Regions from separate parts of the Homo sapiens genome. Here all the other regions are linked to region 4. Evidence: promoter capture Hi-C in 16 types of primary human blood cells and fetal thymus (Javierre and others, 2016). All regions are on one chromosome and are shown on one strand. Each heading gives the region's core, a stretch centred on a gene start or on the middle of the fragment in contact. The rest is flanking DNA. Distances are from core to core; before and after follow the strand shown.

Evidence for each region. Contacts are between HindIII fragments. The CHiCAGO score rates a contact against its expected background, and 5 or more counts as called.
Region 1: a fragment that was not itself captured here is called in contact with the fragment with the promoter of ARHGAP42 in region 4 in 6 of 17 cell types (erythroblasts, megakaryocytes, naive B cells and 3 more); the score reaches 12.3 in erythroblasts.
Region 2: a fragment that was not itself captured here is called in contact with the fragment with the promoter of ARHGAP42 in region 4 in 1 of 17 cell types (total B cells); the score reaches 5.4 in total B cells.
Region 3: a fragment that was not itself captured here is called in contact with the fragment with the promoter of ARHGAP42 in region 4 in 1 of 17 cell types (naive B cells); the score reaches 5.1 in naive B cells.

Annotation. Positions count from the first base shown.
Region 1 is chr11:100,927,241-100,930,736 of GRCh38, forward strand. The region is part of intron 6 of ARHGAP42 (Rho GTPase activating protein 42); the gene reads left to right. Among named protein-coding and RNA genes, the nearest start is that of SNORD13I, 5.3 kb to the right of the region's middle. The HindIII fragment of the contact is 3,084 bases long and covers 1-3,020 here.
Region 2 is chr11:100,904,390-100,907,423 of GRCh38, forward strand. All of the region lies in intron 4 of ARHGAP42 (Rho GTPase activating protein 42), which reads left to right. Among named protein-coding and RNA genes, the nearest start is that of SNORD13I, 28 kb to the right of the region's middle. The HindIII fragment of the contact is 4,721 bases long and covers 1-3,034 here.
Region 3 is chr11:100,874,617-100,877,664 of GRCh38, forward strand. The region is part of intron 4 of ARHGAP42 (Rho GTPase activating protein 42); the gene reads left to right. Among named protein-coding and RNA genes, the nearest start is that of SNORD13I, 58 kb to the right of the region's middle. The HindIII fragment of the contact is 5,652 bases long and covers 1-3,048 here.
Region 4 is chr11:100,685,846-100,689,242 of GRCh38, forward strand. It overlaps ARHGAP42 (Rho GTPase activating protein 42), which reads left to right and starts at 1,443. Exons shown (of 24, transcript NM_152432.4): 1 at 1,443-1,987. The coding sequence starts at 1,834. ARHGAP42-AS1 (ARHGAP42 antisense RNA 1) reads right to left here and starts at 2,110. Exons shown (of 2, transcript NR_133571.1): 1 at 1,788-2,110. RefSeq lists silencers at 813-1,107, 1,158-1,347, 1,648-1,817 and enhancers at 1,044-1,754, 1,468-1,517, 1,838-2,207. The HindIII fragment of the contact is 7,960 bases long and covers 1-3,397 here.

The DNA of each region.
Region 1 (3,496 bases), core at 229-2,728, 240 kb after region 4:
TATATAGATGAGCAGCTTTTGAAAGTTTAACATTTTGATGTGTTTTTCTTTTTCAACGTAATCAGTTAGCTTTAATTTAGTAAAAGTGAAAAAAATAAGGTTAGCATCATTGTTTTTCGAAACTCTGTAGGACTAAAGGTTAAATTTCTATCCTGTTTAAAATCTAAGGGCATTCATTCTTTAAAAATTTAACAACAAAACTTTTAAGTAAAAATAAAATCTGTAATGGTCCTTGGATAAATCTAAAGTTCAGGGTATTGTTATTGAAAATTAGAAATTTGTGATAGAACTTAGTGAACAGAATTTTGTAAAAGTAAGAAAACTGCATCCTATGTGTTTGGTAGAAATCAATCATGTAGCTTCTGCTGGGCTTTATCAGCTTGCTGGTGACAGTACTTTCTCTATTACAATTGAGCTGTAAAGATAAGCTGGCTATTGTCAATGCCTCTGTTCCTTTACCAGGAAAGTGTACCTCAGGCCTCTTCATCTGAATTCCATCCTCTTGAATGCTTACAAATCCATCTTTTCAGGAATTCCAATGACGCTTTTCAGTGCTGAGGCGATGCATGGCCACGGCTTTGTTTTATTAATCAGTGCACGTAATTGTCCATTCATTCATTTGTGCTTCTGTCCTCCCATTTTAAAAGTAGTCTTTTCCAGGCCAGCATTGACTGGCCACTTTCCATTCTTGGCTCTCTTTTTATCTTCAAGTTTCTCATTATTTATTTGATTCGATTTATATATGCTTTCGTTTTCATGCCATGAACTCCTTTGCACATCTATGCATTAGACTTAAAGCAATCTGTAGTCATTTTGAAGGTATCCTTTAAGATGTTTATCTCTAAGTTTCCTCCAGGCAGGGAATTGCAAAGACTACAGATTTAACTCACAGGCCTGACACTTTTACAGTGTGAAAATTGATGCCTTGACTTTGCCCTACTTTTCTAATCTTCTTAGAAGTTTAGATGGCCAAATATGAAGGATGGAACTATATAACATTTTGATTTCTTATAGTGCCTTATGGTGCTTTGTGTTTGGGAAGTATTTATTTTTATTTTTTAAAAACAACTTCAGGCCAGGCATGGTTGCTCACACCTGTAATCCCAGCAAGTTGAGAGGCCGAGGCGGGAGGATTGTTTGAGCCCAGGAGTTCAAAACCAGTCTTTGCAACATGGCAAAACCCCACCTCTACAAAAATTAGTTGGGCATGGTGTCATGCGCCTGTAGTCTTAGCTACTTGGGGGCTGAGGTGGGAGGATCACTTGAGCCTGGGAAGTCAAAACTGCAGTGAACTCTAATCATGCCACTATCCTCCAGCCTGGGTGAAAGGGTGAGACCTTGTCTCAAAAAAGAAAAAAAAAAGTCATAAAGATACAATTCACATACCATACAGACAACTCATTTAAACTATACAATTCAATGGAACTTTAGTATATTCACAGATCTGTGCAACGATCACCACAAAAAAATTTAAAGCATTTTCATCACCTTAAAAATAAACATCACATCCTTTAGGTATCATTCCCAGTATACCCCACAACCATTAATACTGAAACACCACTAATTATTTTCTGTCTCTATTAATTTGCCTACTCTGGGCCTTTCATACAAATGAAATTGTGTAATACGTGGCCCCTTTGGTGATTGACTTCTTTTACTCAGATGCGGTTTTCGAGGTTCATCCATCTGAAAGCATGCATCAATACTTCATTTCCCTTTAGGGCCAAATAACATTTTATTGTATGGATAGACCACATTTTGCTTATCCAAATATTAGTTGATAGGTACCTTTTCACTATTATGAATAATGTTATAAACCAGCGGTCCCCAACCTTTTTGGCACCAGAGACCAGTTTTATGGAAGACTATTTTTCCATGAAAAAATTGGTGAGGAGGGAAGGGTTTCAGGATGAACCTGTTCCACTTCAGATCATCAGGCATTAGTTAGATTCTCATAAGGAGCAGGCAACCTAGATCCCTCGCAGGCACAGTTCACAATAGGCCTCACTCTCCTATGAGAATCTAATGCCAGCACTGATCTGATAGGAGGCAGAGCTCACCCAGGTCTCACCTCCTGCCATGCAGTTGGGTTCCTAACCGGCCACAAATGACCTTTACTGGCCTGCAGCCCAGGGATTGGGGACCCCTATTATAAACGTTCATGTACAAATTTTTGTGTAGATACATGTTTTTCTCTCTCTTGAGGAATTACTGAGTCATGTGGTAACTGTATGTTTCACCATCTGACGAACTACCAAAATATCTGCACCCCTTGACACTCCCACCAGTGATATATGAGGGATACAGTTTCTCCATGTCCCTCACACACACTTGCTATTATCTCACTTTTTGAGTCTAGCTATCCTAGAGAGCTGAACTTAGATTTCACTGTGGTTTTGATTTCGATTTCTCTGATGACTAATAAGAATCTTTCAAATGCTTTTTGACCATTCATATATTTTCTTTCAAGAAATGCCTATTCAATTTCTTTGCCTATTTTTAAACTAGGTTATTTGTCTTTTTATTATTTAATTATGAGTTGTTTATATATTCTGCATACAAGCCCCTTATGGGATAAATGATTTTTGTAAATATATTCTCCCATTCTGTGAGTTTTCTTTCAATTTTCATGACAGTGTACATGAAGCACGAGTTTTTAATTTTGAATATTTGTTCCTTTTCTGTCTTGTAATGGGGTTATTTTAAAAGATTATTTATCTGTTAAGTATGGTATCAGTTTTTCCAACTGGTTGGGTTATTGGAGCGACAAGTAATTTGGTTCTATACCCTTGGGAATAATAAAGTGCTATATGAGATTTCGTCAGTGATAAAAGGAACTTTCTTAGTATTCAAACCTATTCCGTCTATCTAGAAGTTTGTAGTTGTTATTACGGTTACTGTTATTATTTTAAAGGTCAAATTTACTTTAGGGTAAACTGAAACCATAGTTTTTCCCTCACATCCCAGCCATTCAGGCAGATTCACCAAAGAAAATGATATGTGGGAAGTGCAATTCTTAAAGCTTTTCAGGCTGTCCTGTTCAGTTCCTTTCATTTCACATCTTGGAATTTTGTAGAGGATGAAATGAACAAGTATATGTTCAAACCGATAAAAACGTTTAACTTTGCTGCCATCTAGAGGCAGGTATTTCATAATGCAATCTTCAATAAACCCAAATGCTGCTTCCAAAGATGTGGAATAAAAAGGAAAAGGTGTATGATTTTTTTGTATATAATTCTTATGTGCCTTCCATAGGATTGTACATTTCCTAGTGGGTGCTCAGCATGCGTTGTGAGATTAAAAGGTATTTGTCTGCTACTAAGTGAATCTGAATTCTGCTAGAAGCTGCCAATGGGTTTATTTTCCTCTTGACTGAAGTTGGCTGCATATAAAATGCTGAGGATATAGAATAATATGAATAAGATGAAGGTACCAGGATCTTATTTTTTAGAACATGATTAAGAATTTAAAAGCAGAGTTTAGTGGGAAATATTGG
Region 2 (3,034 bases), core at 162-2,661, 220 kb after region 4:
GCGCATGCTACCACGCCCAGCTAATTTTTGTATTTTTAGTAGAGACGGGGTTTTGCCATGTTGACCAGGCTGGTCTCGAACTCCTGACCTCAGATGATCCACCCGCCTCGGCCTCCCAAAGTGCTGGGATTATAGGCATGAGCCACCATGCCCGGACTCTCATCCCCTCTTTCCTTAATCTCTTTCTTTGTTCACTTTTCTTTCTTTCTTCCCTCTCCTTTCTTTTGTCCTTTTTCTCCTTCAACTCCCACCTGACCTCCCCACCTTTTTTTTGGAGGAAGTGAAGTGCTATGGTTTTAATCTTTTGCTTCCTTAGGTTGCATTTTACTTTGCAAGGAACATGGAACTGGGAACCAGATAGATTTAATTTTAATTATCTGCTGTGCCTGTCATAAGCTCTGTGACCTTGGTCAGATTACTTCTCTCTTCTCTGATAATGTTTTCATGCTCATAAAATGAGGATTTATTATTCTTACCTTGTAGAATTTTATGTGGAGTTCTGGTATGCAAACTACTTTACAACCACTGTTAATTGTTCTCCCAGTCTTGGTCAGCACTGAGCATCAGTACCAGTCACAAAATGGGTATTTACTAAAAGCTCAAGTTAATGAATGAATTAATAAAAATCTACTTGTGAGCCAGGTGTCAGCATACCCTTAGGAAACTTTCTCTTCTCTCCATTCTAATTTTTGTTCATTCTTACCAATTTTTCAACTTTTGTGTTTCTCCTCCTCTCTTGCTATCCCATCTCCATTTTTCTCCTTCTCACTTTTAAAACAGAAATCAATTATTGAAGAATTTAACAATGCCTAAGATTGAAAAAGGAAAGTGAATATATTATTTAGAAAAGTGGAGACAAATGGGAATCAATAGCTTAAAAATTTACAAGTATTTGCCTTCAGGGATCAGAACTTTGGAACAGAGATGGAGCAAGGAGCTGGCTTAATTTATATGCCTTCACATATGATTAGATTATTGAAAACTATGTATGTCTTTAATAATTAACTTCCACCTATGGAAAATGAATATTTAGCATCCTTACAGTAGCACAACCACTACTACTTCAAACATATTTCCCTTCCTGCTACCTTCCAAATATATATCATTTGATTACATTTTTTAAAAGATCAACGCTCATTGTCCACATAACAATATAATTATGGTTCATAGGTGAACCATATCAGATTCTATGATTACTTTTTTTGCCTAATTTTTTGTTTCTTGGCATCAGTAATTGCCTTACTTTCAAATTTTGCTTAATATTCTGTTTCCAAGTACAAGGATATAATTACAAAACAAATCTTGGACCGGACACAGTGGCTCACACCTGTAATCCTACCACTTTGGGAGGTCGAGGCGGGTGGTTCACTTGAGGCCAGGAATTTGAGACCAGCCTGGCCAACGTAGCAAAACCCCGTCTCTACTAAAGATAACCAAAATTAGCCAGGAATGGTGGCGCATGACTGTGTTTCCAGCTACTCGGGAGGCCGAGGCACGGGAATCGTTTGACTTCGGAGGCGGAAGCTGCAGTGAGCCAAGATGTTGCCATGGCACTCTGGCCAGGGCGATAGTCTTAATATGTTTAAACATACCAGATAATACCTTCTCCATTCCATTTGTTTAGAGACATTTCTCCTGTAACTCTCATCTTAGCTGGTTGCTTTAAAGTTCAAAGGCTTACTTGTCCATCTAATTTTCTGGAAGATCATATTACCATGATTTTGGGAGTTCCCTGTGACTCTTAAAACTGAAAAAATTCCTGTTTTTTCAGATCTTTTGCCTAACTTCCTTGATTTATTCCCTTATGTGAGCAGAGCACACCCCTCAGTATTCTCCTGAGAAATGGTACAGAAGCAGTAGAATTTTTGAGGCCTTACACATTTGTAAATATTTTTATTTTACCCTCAACCTGGATTGATAATTTAACTAGAAATAGAAAGCTAGGTTTGAATGAATTAGTCCTCAGAAATTTGAAGGCTATGGATTTTGGTTTATTGCTTCTTTTACGCTGTTGAAGATCCATTATTGTTCTGATTTCTGATGATTTTTATGTAAGCTCCATTTTCTTATGGGTTGCTTTTAGGTTTTCATTTTATCCATGTTTTTTAAACATTTTATGATGACATGCCTTTTGTTTATTTTCTCATTCATTGTACAGTGTACATATTGGGCCATTTTAATGTGGAAACTTTAAAAAAAAATTCATTCTGGAAATATTCCTGAAATTTTTTTTTTGGCAATTCTCTTGATTTTATTATCTCTCATTCAGCAGTTCTATTAGTCAGATGGGCTTCTGATATCCTTCTTTATGTTTTAAAACTCTGTTTTCTGTTTTTAATAGCCCTCTTCCTTATTTACATTTAATTTCTGTAAATTATGTTGTTTTATGTATCTATTTGTTTTAAATTTTTCTACCCAGAACTGTGTTTTGAGATCCATCAACACTTATTATTTCTCTCTAAATTCCGTGTAGCACTCCATAGTACACATCTAATACATTTTATGTACCCTCTAACAAATACCCCATCTCCTTTTCTGTTTCCACAGGTAACAACTTAATGAATATGCTCATTCATGTTTGCTGTGGACATTTCTGTTAGCATCTCATTGAGAGATACACCCAGAAGTTGGTTCTTAGGACACACATATATGTCCCTTAGTAGTGCAATGTTTCCCTCTAAAAAGACTTCACCCCTCTACAATCCCATCAGTAGTACCTAAGGGTTCCTGTGTCTCCACATGCTCTTAGCACATGGCATCATTCAACTTTCTAACTCTTAGAGCATCCAACTGATATAATGTAATATCTCATGGATTTAATTTGTTTGTCTCCAATAATGAATGAGTTTGAACAACTCTTCATATGCATGTTACACTTCGGGTTTCCTCTTTTGTGTATTATCCCTTCATATCCTTGACATGCGTTATCTGTTTGCTTCTTTCTGTCCAGTTTGTAGGAGTTCCTTGTAAATGCGAATGTGAATCCTTTGGTTCCTGTGAGTTTGATTACCTGGTGGTGGTGGCAATGATGTAA
Region 3 (3,048 bases), core at 171-2,670, 190 kb after region 4:
TGTTGGTCCTCCTGTTTCCTTGGGGCACCACCTTTTGCCTTTTTCATTCTCTGCCTTGATTCTGCAGCTTCTGGAATTGTAATGTGTTTATTTTTGTGCCAGATTAGTTCTCCAGTCTACCGTATCTTTCCTTTTTAAAATGTATTCCTTTCCTTCCCTTTGGGTAGGATAGGCTTATTGCCCCATCTGTGAATTCCACTGTTATTATCCAGTCCCCAAAAGAAGTGTGGCACAGGAGAAAGTGAATCCAGTGTCTTCTGTGCTGTCTTTAACAGTTCTTACTTACCAGCTCAAAGCACGTATCTCAGGACTCAGATGACTCTGTTCTCTTTTACCTCAGGATGAGTTTTCTACCCTGCAGTTAAGGGTGATTTTTGTTTCCATCCTGATTTGCAAATGTTAATTTCTATGTTTTAAGGCAAGGGTTGGCAAACTGCTGACTAAATCTAATCCACTGTCTCTCTCTCTCTCTCTCTCTCTCTCTCTCTCTCTGTGTGTGTGTGTGTGTGTGTGTGTGTGTGTGTGTGTGTGTGTGTGGCTCATGAACTATGAATGGTTGTTACATTTTTATTTTTTATTTTTTGTTACACTTTGATTTTTTATTTATTTTATTTTTTATTTATTTTTTGCTTTTAAAGTTTTCAGACTTTATTTCACAGTGATCAACACAGGAACGTACTGGAGTTAGTAACCCGGTGCCCAGCCTCCCACCATCCGCTTTATCAGGTCCTGTTCCTAGGAGGATTGGGCTAGGGCTGGGGCTAGGGGTGGGGATGGGGAAAGGACGTTGCAATTTAAGGCATTTCTGGCTTCGGAGCCATCCCTGCCACTCCTGCACCTGCCCCTTGACCTTGGTCAGACATTGGCTGGACCCTGGTCATTCTGAGACAAGGATGACCATCACTGACACTGGGGGGAGGGTTTGCAGTGAGGCAGCCCTCAGCCACTCTCGGCCGAGACGGGAAGGATGAGACCCACCATTCCAGGGGTCAAATAAAATCAACACATGAAGAACACGGTTGGTGGCCAGGCCCAGATACCCAGGCAGGCAACAGAGGTCAACCCCATCCCACAGTGGGCTCTTCTCAGTGGCCCGTCACAGGGCCTGGGGTGTGGCAGAGGGACATGGCCACGTCCAGGGTGGCGGGGGGTGACTGGACAGGGCCAGCTGAGGGTAATTAAAGAGTAGCATAAAGAGGGTAAATAAAGAGTAACATTTTTTGACAAGCGGAAACTGTAGAATTCAGATTTCAGTGTCCATAAATAAAGTTTTATTGGAATATAGTGTCTCTTACCTGTTTATGTGTTCTCTGTGGTTGTTATCTTGTTACAAGAGCACAGTTGGGTGGTTGTGTAGGAGAGCATGTGGCCCACAAAATATAAAATGCTTAACTCTTTGATTCCTTATAAAAAAAATTTGCTCACCACTCACTGGACTAAGACCTGAAACAAATTTCAGTCCTTACCTTTGCAAAATACCTTCTCTGGTAGCACAAACTTAATAACATGTGTTTGATAATTTGGCTTCCTATGTTGGAAAACCACAGAATTTACAGCAAGATGAACTTGAATTTGACCTTGAACAAATTTGTGGCTGAAAATAATATTCTTAACACAGACACCACAAATTTTTATTTCAAGTATTTTTATTTTCATGGAAACCTTTTACCTTTGAAGAAAATATATACGTTCTTAGTTTAGGGCTATAGCTTAGCACACAAGCAATATAGAAGAGAAAAATAAAGAATCCTTTTTGCTTCTGTAGTTGGACGTATTTAAATATTTAAGAGAAGGTCAGGTAAAAACACTTTACAATCAGATGCTTTTATTTAGTTTTCAGAACTGCTAAATATGGTGGACAACCATCCTCCCAACAACATTTGTTATTTTAAGTAAGAATGTGGTGAATCTCATCACGGATTTGTCTGTATGCACTGCTTTTACTTTATACAAAATCAGCCAATTAAAAAGAAAAAATTATTTTGTTTCCTTGGGATTGTGCAGATAAGTGAACTCATTTGTTAGCCAACATTATTGAAATCTGTGGGTATGTTTGTGTAGACTCAGCCCTAGAGCAAGCAATATATTTGCAACTGAACACATATATTGAGAGAAATCTGGTAAGCTCTACCATTTATATTCATCATAGTAAACAGCTCACTGACTTTATTAATAGGTTTCACTTAATACAGCTTCTTACTGTTCTGTATTTAGAGTTGATTTTACGTCTTTCTCTTCTATATACAGCCAGTAATAATCTGAAGCCAAATTTAATGCTCTCCAGAGACCATGCAACCCACGTTTGCATCAAGAGCCTGGTGATTTACAGACTCTGAGTTGGAGAGATGACCTCTACAATTACTGTAGAAACCCAGTGAGAAGTGAAGTGAGCTCACTGTAGAAAGATTTCAGGCATTGAAAAAACTTGCCTTATTTGGTAAATGTGGTTAACTGGTCCCAGCTGGTAATACTGGTGAGCTCATTGTGAGATGTATTGTCTCTTAAAGCCAAATTCTTGTATTTTTAAAAATCTGTTAGAATTGGAGTATTAAATAGTATTTGTTCAGTTTTTCTTGATGTTCTAGGAAGTAAATCAAATCAGAAACAATAGAGTTCCATTTTGAAAACTAAAGCTCAGATGCAGTGACACTTAAAATATTCCCAGTATATCTTTTCTTGTCTCTTATGTTGCTTACCTTACTTAGCCTCTGGGGAATTTGGAGTTTAATTTATGCCTTGAAATACAAGACTCCTACGGGAAGCAAATTTATGTGGCCATGTGTGCTTTACTATACTTCTTTGCTCATGTAAGTTTACTCTGTATATTACACTTTCAGGATAGATTCTGTTAATTGCATTTTCTTTAATGACCAGTAGCATTTCATGCTTGTAAATGAAAGACTATGGTTTCTCATGTCTTCTGTAAAATTCCTACCTCAGATTTGTCTGTATCTTGAGTCTGGCTTTCCAGAGATTCAGTTGTTTCAGAGGAAAAAACACAGGGTTTAAGTCAAGGAGAACTTGGTTTGAATCCTGGCTCTGCTGTGT
Region 4 (3,397 bases), core at 193-2,692:
TGGAGTCGTTCTGTCACTCAGGCTGGAGTGCGGTGGAGTAATCTCGTAATCTCGGCTCATGGCAATCGCCGCCTCCCGGATTCCAGTGACTCTCCTGCCTCAGCCTCCCAAGTAGCTGGGACTACAGGCGTGCGCCACCAGGCCCAGCTAATTTTTGTATTTTTTAGTAGAAACTGGGTTTCACCGTGTTGGCCAGTATGGTCTCCAACTCCTGACCTCAAGTGATTCTCCTGCATCAGCCTCCCAGAATGCTGGTATTACAGGCGTTAAGTCACTGCGCCTGGCCCATACTGTTTACATTATCTTATCTGTTTTAGGTTTACATGTTATTTTTAATGTTCCTGTACATTTAAAAAATTGAAACCAAGAATCTTGACTGGCTCTGAAACTTAATTGGGAAAAATGTAAAGCACTTTAGTGGAATTTTTCCCATGATCTGTAGAATAGTTTTTAAACAGATGGTTCATATGGACAAAGCAATGAAAATGCAGAAATTAAAAGCAGATCCTTAAGAACAATATCCGAGTTCTCAGAAATCCTATAGATGATGTCAGGACGAGATGTAAAGCAGTCGTTTCTTTTGCTGTCAAGGTTTTAAGAGAACAGAAATTTATTAGGTGAACCTCCACCGGAGGAAGGATAAAGCCTGTGGGTAGGAGTTAACTATTTATTTCAAACTCCAGTCCACTTCAACAATTTGAAAATTTTCCCGCTCCTAGGACAATTCCATCCAGGTGCCAATAGGAGATACTACTATTGTGATGCAAATAGGTATTCTACTAGAAGTAGGAGCACGTAAGCAGAGTGAGGATGACTTGAAAAATCGTCCCACCTTCCCAGCTATGGAGTGGGGGCAGGGGGAAGAAACACCTCCAGGCTGGATCATTGAAGCTGAGGGGTGGGAGAGCGACGGGACAATTTTTCAACGTGGAATTCAAATGCATTCGGTGGGGAAGTGTGAAGTAAAATCTAAACGAACGCTAGACAGTAGTATCTTCCATCTACGCTTCAAAATACTCAGACTTTAGGGAAACTTAACGTTGGTTTTTCTCCCAGAGAATTGTAGGGAGTGGGTGGAGGGGACACTGTTAGGGGAGGTATATTGGGAGTCAGATCCTTTTGTGGAGCGAGGGACCCCGAAGTGTCACCAAGGGCTAGCCGAAACCAGGGGCCCAAGAGGGGACAGGGCTAACACCCCAGCCAAGGCCGGAGCGCAAGCGCGGGGCTGCAGCGCGGGGAGCCCTGGAGCCCAGTGCGGGCGGACGGGTGGGGCAGGAGGGCAAAGGGGCGAAGGGGCGGGGTGGCGCTGGGTGGGAGCGCGGCGGCGGGGAGGAGGGTCTGGGAGCCCGGGTGCGATTTGCAAGCGCTCTGAGCCTGCGTCCGCCGAGGGGGAGGGTTTCCCCAGCCCGGCCGGAGTTGCGGCTGTGCGCTGCTTCTGGCTCACAACGCCGACGACTGTCAAGAGAGTTGGGGAGTGGAACTGCCGGAAGTGTCTGCGCGCCGTGAGAGAAACTTTCCTGCTCCGGCCGCGGCCCGGAGCCTCGCCGCCCCCGCGTTCCGAACGACGATGCGTCCAGATGACAACAACCTGAGGGGACTCGCGCCTCGGCCCGCCGCCCGCGCCTGCGCTCGCCTAGCCTCGGGGGAGGAAGACTGAGCCCGGCGCAGGCGGCGCGGCGCTCGGGGCCCGTTTCCTCCGCGCAATCAGTCCCCTCGCGTCCCGGCGCCTTCCCCGCGATCGCGCGACCCCAGCGCCCGCCGCGGCCGCCGGCTGCCCCCGCCCTGACCTCCGGCCCGGACGTGTCCGCGGCCGCCGCTGGCAGCGCCTGTGCCATGGGGCTGCCCACTCTGGAGTTCAGCGATTCCTACTTGGACAGCCCAGATTTCAGGGAGCGCTTGCAGTGTCACGAGATTGAGCTGGAGCGAACCAACAAGTTCATCAAGGAGCTCATTAAGGACGGCTCTCTGCTCATTGGGGCGTTGAGGAGTAAGTAGGGCTGGCGGGGGAGTGGACACCCGCATCTGGAGAGTCCCCGCGGGGTGCGGGTCCGAAGGGTGGGTTGGAGGAGTCGGAGCTTCTTTTGTTTGAATGGATTTGGGGACAAAAGCTGAAGAGCTCCCCTGCTGGTGGCCAACAAAGTTTGTTCTTGAGGTGTTCTTTACTTACTCACATGTCTACAGGGATGGGGAAAGTTCTCTACAGGGCACTGGAATATATCCTGAGGAAAGTCGTTCAAAGTCATCTCGTTGTGTAATGCTCCTAGGAAGATGTTGGGGACTTTAATTTTTTTTTTTTAATTTATTGTGTCTATTAATAGTTTGAACTAAAAAAGCCCTTAAGGGGGGAATCAAGAGTTTGTCTTAAAGATAAAATTAGGCTAGTTTAGTGATATTGAAAGAAAATTATTAATGTCTCTCATACGTCAGTGGCTCTTCATTGGACACAGTCATTGAGTTGGCTTTTTAAAAAGCATACATTTGCAGTTTTGCCATTTTGTAAGATAATGGAAGACAGCAAGGCACCAGTGCATTTTAACTCTGCAAGTTTTCTGTGCGTCTTAGTTTTGGTTTGCATTGTGTGGGTGTTGGGTGTGTCATTGGGATGAAAGTTAAGGGGTTAAAGGCCAATCAGAACTTTTGATGATCTGTAGAATATAAAGACTGTTATAGTCTATAATATAGGGCTTCTTCCACCTCCTTTCCCATACACCTCTTGATCAAATTTTCCTTCCTCCTTTTATCCTCTGGATCTTAGCTTTCAATTCCTAAGACCTAAGAGTATCTGAAACTGAAGAGTTTCTCTTACAGAGAATTGAGCACAATTACATGATATGGCTTGTTACCTTTCCCAGGAGGTATTTGCATCTTTTAAAAAATTTATTTTTATTTATTTATGTATTTATTTATTTTCCATCTTCAAAGGAGCCTGTGAAAAGTATTTGCATCTTAATAGAGGCTTCTGGATGTTTTAGCTACTGAAATGAAGCCGTGGAATCTCTGGTCACTTAAAGCTGGGTGAGTGAGGTACTTTCAAAAGGTAGAGAGACCTTTGGGTGATCTAGTTACCCCCAGGACATATATGGGGGCATCATCTTTGTATAACAACATGATAGGGATGTGTGCGCCTAAAACTGAGACAATACTAGTATCGGATCTATATTTTGAAACATGTATTAACAGTAAGGAGAGAGCTTAGCAAGATGTCTTGAAATTAATGTGCTCCAAAATATCTTTTAATCATCCCAAATGTTAAAACATTTACTTAACCACTTGTGTTACTTAACCAAGGTAAAGATAATATATTTTATGCCCATATTCACTTAATTTCTGAATTTGAGGCTACTACTAATAATGGTATTTACTGTGATTTGTGAAAAATATAGTTTGTCTGCAATTC